Linked DNA regions of Homo sapiens: regions 1 and 2 are each linked to region 3. The links are contacts of gene promoters, found by promoter capture Hi-C in human tissues and cell types (Jung and others, 2019). All regions are on one chromosome and are shown on one strand. The core of a region is centred on a gene start or on the middle of the fragment in contact, and the rest is flanking DNA. Distances in the headings are between cores, read along the strand shown.

Region 1 (3,247 bases), core at 503-3,002, 660 kb before region 3:
TTTTTCATGATTAGATTGAAAGATCCCAGAAGTAAAGAGCCATTTTAATCACATGACTTATCAATGTTGAGGTTAACCTCAATCACCTAGATGTCAATGTCAGGTTTCTCCACTGTAAATTTAGGCTTTTTCTCCCCTTTCTTGTACCCTCTTCTTTGAAAGGAAGTCACTATGCACAGTCCATACTTACAGAATGGGGAGGTATCCTTCACCTTCTTGAGAGCAGAGTATCTACGCAGATTATTTGGAATTCTTCTGCACAAACTATTTGTCTATTCTCCCCCCTTTATTTATTTGTTCTATATTCATCTATATGACCATAGGCTCATGGATACTTTATGTTTGGGATTATAATCCAATACTACTTTATTTTGATGCTCAAATTGTTCCAGCTTTGGCCATTGGGAGTTCTTTCAGTTGGCTCCTTTGGCATACCCCCTAATTTTGTGTGTGAGCACACGTGTGGAATACTTCCTTCCTTTCTGGCACTACAAAGTTATACTGAGGTGAGCTATGATTGTGCTGCTGCACTCCAGCCTGGGCGACAGACCGAGACCCTGTCTCCAAAACCAACAACCCAAAGAGTGAGACCCTGTCTCAGAAACCAGCAACTCAATTTTCTGGGACAGCAGGAGGTGTGTTTGAGCCTAAACTTTTTTTTTTAGAGACAGAGTCTTGCTATGTTGCCCAAGGCGGGACTTGAACTAGACTCAAACTCCTGGGCCCAAGCGATCCTCTCGCCTCCCGAGTAGCTGGGATTATAGGCACGAGACACCGCGCCCATCTTCGAATCTGAATTTTTTTTTAACACGCTCTCTTCAGCTATTTTTTTTTTTTTTCTGAGACTAAGTCTCACTCTGTCGCCCAGGCTGGAGTGCAGTGGCACGATCTCGGCCCGTTGCAACCTCCACCTCCCCGGTTCAAGCGATTCTCCTCTCTCAGCCTCCTCAGTAGCTGGGATTACAGGAGTGTGCCACCACACCCGGTTAATATTTGTATTTTAGTAGAGCGGGGTTTCGCCATGTTGGCCGGGCTGGTCTCAAACTCATGACCTCAAGTGATCCGCCCGCCTCGGCCTCCCAAAGTGCTGGGATTACAGGCGTAAGCCACCGTGCCCGGCCCTCTTCAGCTATTTTTTATGAAACCAGAGTTAGAGAACCTCTTAAGTTTTTGTTTGCAGTCTCTCTTCACCGGTCTCCCCAAAGCAGTTCTAGTACTGGCCGACAGAGGGAGCAAGAAAAAGCAGAACGGTTTCCTTTTCCCACAAACGCCTTTCCAAGTGAAGAAACCGGCGAGACCAGCCGCGGGGGCGGGACTAAGTTCTGCGCAGAACTGTCAAACCCGGGCGTGGGCCCCGAGCTGTCACGTGAGTGTCTGCGGTCAGCTGACTGTGCCAGAGTTCCGCGGGGAGGGCGAGTGGGGGACCCCCCGCCCCAGCGCGAGCCGAGGGCTCCTGCTGATTGGTGGAGGAGGATCCAGCAGCAACACCGTGGGGCGGGGCCTCGGCGGGGGGTACTGCCATTGCCTTCCACAGGGTCACGTGGGAGGTGAGGTACAGAGCGCTGGGGAGAGAGTGGAGCGCCGTTCGCCGGTATGTGCGCATGCGTTGAGGTCTCTTGACGCCGATTGGGGGGTCACGAGTCACGGGCGGCGTGCGGCGGCTGGTGGGGGCGTGTCCGGCGGAGCGGGCGCGGCGTTACGAGGCCGCTGGTTGGCCAGCGCTAGTCACGTGGTTCCTGGCCGCAAGCGACGCGCGCCGGTGCGACGTCAACGCAGCCGGGCGAGTTTTACCGATCTGTGTTCCGCGGCCCGGCCGCGGCTGAGTCTTCCCAGGGTCAGGGTCAGGCGCTTTGCTGAGTCCCTTTGTGGCCGCCATGGACAATTCCGGGAAGGAAGCGGAGGCGATGGCGCTGTTGGCCGAGGCGGAGCGCAAAGTGAAGAACTCGCAGTCCTTCTTCTCTGGCCTCTTTGGGTGAGAACCGGGCTGAGGGGTCGGCCGGGACCTAGGCTGAGAGGACGAAGGAGTCACGCTCGGAGGTGGCGGGTTAGGGCACGCAGAGCTCGGGCCGAGGGGACGGAGAGGAACCTGCAATAAGGTGACATGGCCTGAGGCGGCAGAGGGGACGCAGGCTGAGGGCCAAGAGCCTGGGCCGGGGCAACACGGTTTGAGGAGAGACGGTCTGACATGGCGGAAGGGATTTGGGCTGAGGACACACGGACCGAGGCGACACTATCTTGAGGCGAGGAAGGGGACCCAGGCCGAAGACAGGCCAGCGGGCGGGGGAGAACCTGGACCGAGGGAGTACGTCCTGAAGCCTTGGAGGGGACCGGCCTGGGGGGACGGAGGGAGTCCGGGAGAGAAGCCAGGTCCAGAGGCTTTTCGGAGCTCTAGGGGAGTCTGTTTGAAGGCTCTCAGGCGGCAGTGATGGGGCCTGGGGCTGAGGACGCCTGCCCGAGGGACTGACCTTTTCAACCCCTGGAGCAGTGGATTTGCGTGGGCCCTGGGCGGTGAGGGTGAAGGCTGAAGGGGGCTGACACCAGGCAGAGGGGCTCAGGGCTAGATGATCCTAGGAGCGGTGAGCCGCGTCTGAAGTGTGGGGGGTGCATGGGGTGAGTACGGCCCTGGTTAGCAGTGACTAGTTTAAGGACAGCTGAACGGAGGAACCCGGGATGATGGAGTCAAGACTGTGGAGGTCTCAGCACTTTGGGAGGCCGAGGTGGGCAGATTATCTGAGGCGGGGAGTTCGAGACCAGCCTGGACAACATGGTGAAACCCCGTCTCTACTAAAAATACAAAAGTTATCTGGGCCTGGTGGCGGGTACCTGTAATCCCAGCTACTCGGGAGGCTGGGGCAGGAGAATCACTTGAACCCGGAGGTAGAGGTTGCAGTGAGCCGAGATCGAGCCACTGCACTACAGCCTGGGGGACAGAGCGAGACTCTGTCTCAAAAAAAAAAAAAAAAAAAAAGAAAGAAAGAAAGAAAAAAGCCTGAGGAGGCCTGGGTTGAGGCTGGAGACTCCTGGGTGGGGGAATGCGTGGTGGTGGCTTGGCCAAGGAGATGGAGGGATAACAGGGAGAGACAGGGGGACTGAGAGAACCAAAACGGGGGATCAAATTCCTGCTGTGTGATCCTCGAGTAATAGGGATGACAGAGACATGCTGAGAAGAGGGATGGGAAAAGGCCTGGGAGACAGAACTAACACATATGACGTGGCATAAAACTCACGTTAGCTCCTAAAAGCTGAC
Region 2 (3,692 bases), core at 1,087-3,586, 990 kb after region 3:
GATTACAGAGTGAGGTAGCTAAGGTGTAGGGGTCGTTGCAGCAAGACGAATGGGGGTCAGACTTGAGGAAGGACTTTCTGTCTGTCCAGGTGAGGGGATTAGAATATGCCGCCACCCCCCACTCCAGGGAAGCCTTGTCTGAGGTGAGACTGGATGGGAATTTTAGCAATAGCTGGAGGTTGCTGGACTGGCGGGGAGCAGGGGAAGGTGCACAATCTAAAACTCTCCATCTTCCGACTTGGGGAGTCCCTGCGGAGGGTCATGGGTAGGGATGGGGGGGTGGAGATCGGCCCCTCTCCTGCCAATGCTGATGGCTACATCTTCTGCTCCCAGATGCCCAACTCTAAGCCACCTGTTATTTCAGACTCCAAAAACGAAGCTTCATCTCTGAGCACCCCCATCTCTGACCCCTGAGCACCAATCCCTATGTCTGACCCTACCTTAGATTACCAGCTGATCCTTAGCCCCGAACCCCGGTTCTTTAACACTGTGTGCTGGCCCTGAGCTCCCACCTCAGTCTTCCCCTTAATGGTGACTCCTCCTCCATCTTTTAGTCTTTCTTTCCCTCCAACTTTGAACCTCACATCCTGAAACCCCCTAGTCTGTCCCCTACCCTGGAACTCTGATTCCTATCTTTGGTTTGTACATATAAATCCCTTGCTTTTTGGGGCTCCAACACCCGGCTCCCAAGTTTAAGGTGTGACCCGACCCTTGGCTAAATTTTCCTGACTTCCATTTTTAAGCCCTGGCCGCGGCGAGGCTGCCCAAACAGCGCTCCCATCCATGCCTCGTCCCCGGTCCCCGACTTCCACACCTGGTCTCCGTGTTCCCAGTTCCTCAGCTGCCCAAGTAGACGCCTTTGCCTCCATTTGAACCCACAACCAGTCCCTGCTCCATGTGAGCCCACACCCCGATACCTGCCCCCAACTTCCCGCTCCGCCATCCCCGAGGACACACCTCGCCCGCCTCCGGGTAGTAGCTCCACTCGGCCAGGTCATGGGCCTCCATCTTCACTGAGCCCAGCATCCCCCGGGCTTACGCCCCCACCCGCCCCCGCTCCGGCCCCGGGGGAACGGAGCGCTCTGGATCTCTCAGCGGGCACGGCCCGAGCTCCCACCGGCGCCCGCCCGTCCGACCGCCCGGGGTACGGCTGTCCCGAGCGCCGCGGGAGGCGGCCACGCTTTATAGCCGGGACACCCCCGCCCTCGCCCGCCCCGGGCTCCCCTCCCGCCTCCCCGAGGGCGGCGCGCTCGGACTGGGGCGCCCCCTGCGGGATCGCCAGGAGACAGACCTCAGGCGCCGGGGGCCGCAGCCCCAGGACGCGACAGCTGGGGGTGATTCAGGAGTGAGGGAGCTGCCCGCAGCGACGCTGCAGATACCAAGGGCCCCGAGGTCAGAACTCTGGAGCCTTTCTACCTCAGGGGGCTTCATCATCTCGGCAGGAGAGGACGAAGAGCCAGAGCCCTGCATGACCGTGGCGGAAGAAAGGGGAATCAGAACGCTAGGGCCACTATGCGACTACAAGGACCCGTAAAAGGTCCCCGAAATCACATCCCCATTGGACAGACAGGAAGACTGAGGCTTCCGACGGCTAGAAATGCTTAACTTGGCCGGGCGCGGTGGCTCACGCCTGTAATTCCAGCACTGCAGGAGGCCGAGGCGGGCGGACGAATCACTTGAGGTCAGGAGTTTGAGACCAGCCTGGCCAACAGGGTGAAACCCCATCTCTATTAAAAATACAACAACTAGCTAGGCGTGATGGTGCGTGCCTGTTATCCCAGCTATTCGGGAGGCTGAGGCAGGAGAATCGTTTGAACCTAGGAAGCGGAGGTTGCAGTGAGCCGAGATCGCGCCACTGCAGTCCAGCCTGGGAGAGAGAGCGGGACTCCGTTTCCAAAAAAAAAGAAAGAAAGAAAAGAAAAGAAAAAGAAATGCTTCAGACTGTTGAAAGGGTCAAGAACAAAGATGGAGGGGATCGGGGCCTCTCCGCAGACCCCACTAGGGCAACAGACCACCTCCCCTCCAAGACCCAGGAGCTTCGCTGCCCGAACTCCGCACTCTCCAAGACCAGCCAGCCGTCCAGGGACTCAGCACCACTGAGAACTCCATTTCCCAGAATGCTCTAGCTCCCTTTCCGCCCGGTGCCTCCGAAGGGACTACATTTCCCAGAAGGCCTAGCCGGACCCAGAGCCGGAAATGAAGGGTCTGCTCGCCGTAGTATGGAGGCGGGCAGAATGCCGCTCGCACGGGACGAGGCATGGGCGGGGTCGGGCTGTGCTCTGGACTCCATTTCCCGGCGGCCCTGGGTGTGTGGCGCGTGCGCACCGTTCCCGGCGACGAACGGAAGATGGCGGCGGCGGCGGCGGCGGAGTGTAGGAAGAGGCACTGCTGAGGGGGCGCGAGGGGAACGGAGGCCAGAGCTGCGGTGAGCGGGAGGCGGCGTTTGGGCCCGGAGACGAAAGGAGGAGGCTCCTAAAGAAGCAGGGGCTCGGGCGGGGAGGGCATCGCCGTGGGGAGAGGGGAACAGTGGCTTTCGCGACCCATGTTTCTTCCCTTGCTCAGGACCCTTCCTTGGCTCCCTAGTGCCCTCGAGGCAAAGTTCCAACGTGGCCCCCCGGGCGCCACCGCCCCGCAGACCTCGCTTGCTTCGACTCGGCCTCTTTGCTTTTTCCCCCACCTCTAACAGCCGCCCTGGCCTTTCGGTTCCTTAAACTTGCCATGCGCTTTCCCGCTTCGGGGATTTTGCACAGGCTGTCCCTTCTGCCTGCAACATCCTTTTACCCATTCGGCTTGGCTAACTCCCATTTCATCCTTCGGGTCTCGGCACCAACGTCACTTCCTCTGCGAAGCCCTCCTTCCCTGCCCTCCATCCAGAAATCCGCCTGTTAAATGCTTTTGTCGGTCCGTGTTCCTTCATGTCACGTGTGGTCTAATTTGTTATCCGACTCTTATCTGTGTGCTGTTTTATGATGTCTATGACCGTGTGTTCCATGAAGGTAGGGACTAGGTTTGTCTCTGTCGCCACTGTGTTCTCAGCACAGCGCCAATCACGCCGGAGACGCCCAGCTAATGTTCGTTGAAGGAATAAAAGATACTCCTAGAGCCAGTTTGGGGAAACAGGGTAGTCATCAGATTCCTAGGTAGCAGTGGGGCAGGGTACCACTTCTTAACGAGTACATCGAGAGGGAAGGGGAAACAGTGATACTGTTCATCATAGCAAAAGGCTACACGCATCCCAAATGTTCTTAAATAAGAAGATTGGCTGAAAGAAACTATAATACATCCACATAAAAAATACTATGCAACTCTAAAAAGGAATGAGGTAGATAAAAGGAAATGATGAAAATCTCTATACACTGATATAGTGGCCTCCAACATATATTAAGGGAAAACAAGTGAAGTGGAGGTTGGTGTTTATTGTATATGCTTTTTCTTTTTTTTTTTTTTTGAGACAGGGTCTCACTCTGTCGCCCAGGCTGGCACGATCCCAGTTCACTGCAACCTCCACCTCCCTGGTTCAAGTGATTCTCCCACCCCAGCCTCTCGAGTAGCTGGGATTACAAACGTGCCCCACCACACCCAGGTAATTTTTATATTTTTAGTAGAGACGGGGTTTCTCTGTGTTGGCCAGGCTGGTCTTGAACTCCTGACCTCAAGTGATCTGCCCACCTCAGCCTTCCAAAGTGCAGGGA
Region 3 (3,470 bases), core at 224-2,723:
TGGGAGGTGGAGGAGGGAGGATCGCTTGAGCTCAGGAGTTCAAGAGCAGCCTAGGCAACATAGCAAGACCCTGTCTCTACAAAAAGTACAAAAAATTAGCCAGGTGTGACGGCATGTGTATGTAGTCTCAGCTACTCGGGAGGCTGAAGTGGGAGGATCACTTGAGCCCAGCAGGTTGAGGCTTCAGTGAGCTGAGATCATGCCACTGCGCTACAGCCTGGGTGACCAAGGGAGACCCTCTTTCAGAAAAAAGCAAAAACAAAGACACACCAAAAAAACACTAAACTAACTGCTGACCTGGAGGGTTTTTTTTTTTTTTGACAGAGTTTCGCTCTTGTCATTCCAGCTAGGGTGCAATGGTGTGATCTCGGCTCACTGCAACCTCTGCCTCCCAGGTTCAAGCAATTCTCCTGCCTCAGCTTCCCGAGTTGCTGGGATTACAGGCACCTGCCATCACACCCAGCTAATTTTTATATTTTTAGTAGAAATGGTTTCACCGTGTTGGCCATGCTGGTCTCGAAGTCCTGACCTTAGGTGATCCACCCACCTCAGCTTCTCAAAGTGCTGGGATTACAAGCATGGGCCATCATGCCCCCGCCAAACTAGAGATTTTTTTTTTTTTTTGGAGTCTCTCTCTATTGCCCAGGCTGGAGTGCAGTGGCGAGATCTGGGCTCACTGCAACCTCTGCCTCCGGGCTTCAAGTGATTCTCCTGCCTCAGCCTCCCGAGTAGCTGGGACTACAGGTGCGCACCACCATGCCTGGCTAATTTTTTGTATTTTTAGTAGAGATGGGGTTTCGCCATGCTGGCTAGGCTGGTCTCGAACTCCTAACCAAGTGATCTGCCTGCCTCGGACTCCCAAAGTGCTGGGATTACAGGAGTAAGCCACCGCGCCGGGCCGGTTCAAATTTATGCTTTTAAACTGTTGTCTCCCGAGAGACACACGCAACGTATTTTAAGCAAAACACTGGCTTGGTGTTGTGGTGGCTCATGCCTGTAATCCTGGTGATTTGGAAGGCTGAGGGTCGCTTGAAGCTGAGTTCGAGATCAACCTAGGCAATATATCTAGACCCCTGTCTCTATTTTTAAAAAAATTAAAGAAATCACTGGATGAGGAATGGAAAGACATTTTCTATCTCCCCAGGACAGTTTTTTAAAATTTAAAACTACTATTCCCAGCATGCCCTTCTCCCCTGGGTGGGGGGAGGGGACCTAAGAGAACTACATTTCCCTGAATGCAACGCCTTCACCGCTGGTTCTTCAGCATCTCGGGAATTGTAGTCCTCTGTAAAGATGTTTGTCCACAAATCCCAGCATGCACTTGGGATCTGACTCGTTTGGTAGGAAAAGGACTGGCTCTGACTCTTCACCCATCTTCACCCAGGCTGGCCCCTTTGGTGAAACTACAACTCCCAGGGGTCTGTGCGCGAGAAGGCAGGCGGGTTTTTCTACCGGAAGTCCGCTCTAGCTCTGGGCCCTACAACTGCACCCTGAGCCGGAGCTGCCCAGTCGCCGCGGGACCGGGGCCGCTGGGGTCTGGACGGGGGTCGCCATGGTAACGGGGGAGCGCTACGCCGGGGACTGGCGGAGGGGGGGCCCACGCGTAAATAGCCGAGGCTGGATCGGGCGCTGACAAGTCCCTTCTCTGCCGCGGATGGTCTGGGTCAGGCGCGGGCTCTGGGGATTGGGACCGATCCAGGGCCGGGAAGGAGGGCACAGGGCGGTGATTCTGCGCGCGGGGGTTACCAGGGGTCTCGCGGCGACGGGCATTGGGGGTGGTGTTCCAAGGGGAAAGGGCTGTGCAGGTGGGAAACGTTGTAGATGGTTGGAAGCTTTGAAACGAGAGGAAACTCGTGAGACACAGTCTTGTGGGTAGCGAGAAGGCATTGGAGGTGGGGAGAGGGCGTCCGAAAGAGGAAGGCGCTCTGGAAGTGTGGCGGGAGCGCTGGGACGAGAACGCGAGACCTTGGAAAAGGGGAGGGAGGTTTTCTTGATGGGAGGAGTCTCTAGAGACAAGGATCTGATTGCAGGTGGAGAGGGGATGTTGAGACAGGGGCAGGAGACTGCCTGTGAGAGAGGGATGATCTCAAGAAGAGACCTGGCACAGGAAACCAAAAGGAGGCAACTGTAGGGAATGAAACTTAAGGGTCTGGGAAAGCGCTGTAAAAGGAGAGAGGACCTGGAGGTAAGATGGACACTCGGAAAGAATGGGGAGCAACTGAATAGGTCTTTCCAAGAGGAGAGATCTTGTGGGGTGGGGAGTAGGCTTGAAAGTGTGAGACCTGGGGAGGAATCTTTGTTGGGGCAAAGACTCAACATTGGATTTAGGAGTGCCCCTATCCCCCAGGTTGGGGCTTTGGATCTAGGAAAGGGTTCTTTGGGCTGGAAGTTGGGAAAGAAAACGAATGAGAAAGAGTGTCAGAGCGGGGGCGGAGTCTCCTCCAGGAACAGGGTCCTTGGAGGCAAAATGTGACCTTTTGAAGAAGGGAGGAAGCTTGGGAGTGGGACAAGGGATGTCACCAGTAAAAAGCCCATTGAGGCCCCAAGGAGGGGAACTGAGACTGAGAAAGTGGAGGTCAAAAGGGAACAACTCCAGAGGAGGGGGATTGGAGACAGGGAAGGTTGGGGGGCATCTAGAGGGGACAGCAGAGGCGTGAGGATGCAGAGATTCAGGACGGAGGGGACTTGAGATTCCAAATGGGAAGAAAACAGGGAGAGGTATACAAGGGAATTTGGGAGTAAGAGGCAGAGCTTTTTGTCAACTCTGTGGGTTTGCTTCTAGTTCTCCTAACTGTGTGAATATGTCTCCGGCTCTGCTCCCAGGCTGTGGCTGCCTGGTGTAGGCCCCCCAACGTCCCTTCCTGCCTGGGACCCCTGCCCTGCTAGGAAGTGGTTTTCCCTGGCTCAGCAGGAGTTCTTGGAAGGAGAGTGTAACATCCTGTTCCGGTCCAGTTTGGTTGGTTGGGGGAGGGAGGATAGAGTGTGTGGAGAATGAGGCTTAGGAAAGACTCTCAGGCTGGGGCGGTGACTCATGCCTGTAATCCCAGCACTTTGGGAGGCTGAGGCAGGCGGATCACATAAGGTCAGGAGTTCGAGACCAGCCTGGCCAACGTGGTGAGACCCCGTCTCTACTAAAAATACAAAAATAAGCCAGGTGTGGTGGTGGATGCCTGTAATCCCAGCTACTTGGGAGGCTGAGGCAGGAGAATCGCTTGAACCCGGGAGGCAGAGGCTGCAGTGAGCCGAGATTGTGCCACTGGCCTAGGCGACAGAGTGAGACTCTGTCTCAAAAAAAAAAAAAAAAAAAAGGCTGGGCACAGTGACTCGCGCCTGTAACCCCAGCACTTTGGGAGGCTGAGGCAGGCAGATCACAAGGTCAGGAGTTCGAGACCAGCCTGACCAACATGGTGAAACCCTGTCTCTACTAAAAATACAAAAATTAGCCGGGCATGGTGGCATGCGCCTGTAAT

Evidence for each region. The method cuts DNA at HindIII sites, captures the fragments that hold promoters and counts their contacts. A contact is called where the count stands out against the background at its distance.
Region 1: a contact is called between the fragment with the promoter of NAPA here and the fragment with the promoter of AP2S1 in region 3, in 1 of the 25 tissues and cell types used here (dorsolateral prefrontal cortex).
Region 2: a contact is called between the fragment with the promoter of SYMPK here and the fragment with the promoter of AP2S1 in region 3, in 1 of the 25 tissues and cell types used here (dorsolateral prefrontal cortex).

Annotation. Positions count from the first base shown.
Region 1 is chr19:47,513,568-47,516,814 of GRCh38, reverse strand. NAPA (NSF attachment protein alpha) reads left to right here and starts at 1,752. Exons shown (of 11, transcript NM_003827.4): 1 at 1,752-1,972. The coding sequence starts at 1,875. RefSeq lists an enhancer at 1,104-1,373 and a silencer at 1,464-1,803. The HindIII fragment of the contact is 27,973 bases long and covers 1-3,247 here.
Region 2 is chr19:45,861,791-45,865,482 of GRCh38, reverse strand. SYMPK (symplekin scaffold protein) reads left to right here and starts at 2,336. Exons shown (of 27, transcript NM_004819.3): 1 at 2,336-2,425. It overlaps FOXA3 (forkhead box A3), which reads right to left and starts at 1,157. Exons shown (of 2, transcript NM_004497.3): 1 at 958-1,157. The coding sequence starts at 1,026. RefSeq lists a silencer at 962-1,371 and enhancers at 2,012-2,421, 2,673-3,311. The HindIII fragment of the contact is 22,327 bases long and covers 1-3,692 here.
Region 3 is chr19:46,848,849-46,852,318 of GRCh38, reverse strand. It overlaps AP2S1 (adaptor related protein complex 2 subunit sigma 1), which reads left to right and starts at 1,473. Exons shown (of 5, transcript NM_004069.6): 1 at 1,473-1,555. The coding sequence starts at 1,553. RefSeq lists an enhancer at 1,149-1,458. The HindIII fragment of the contact is 18,087 bases long and covers 1-2,163 here.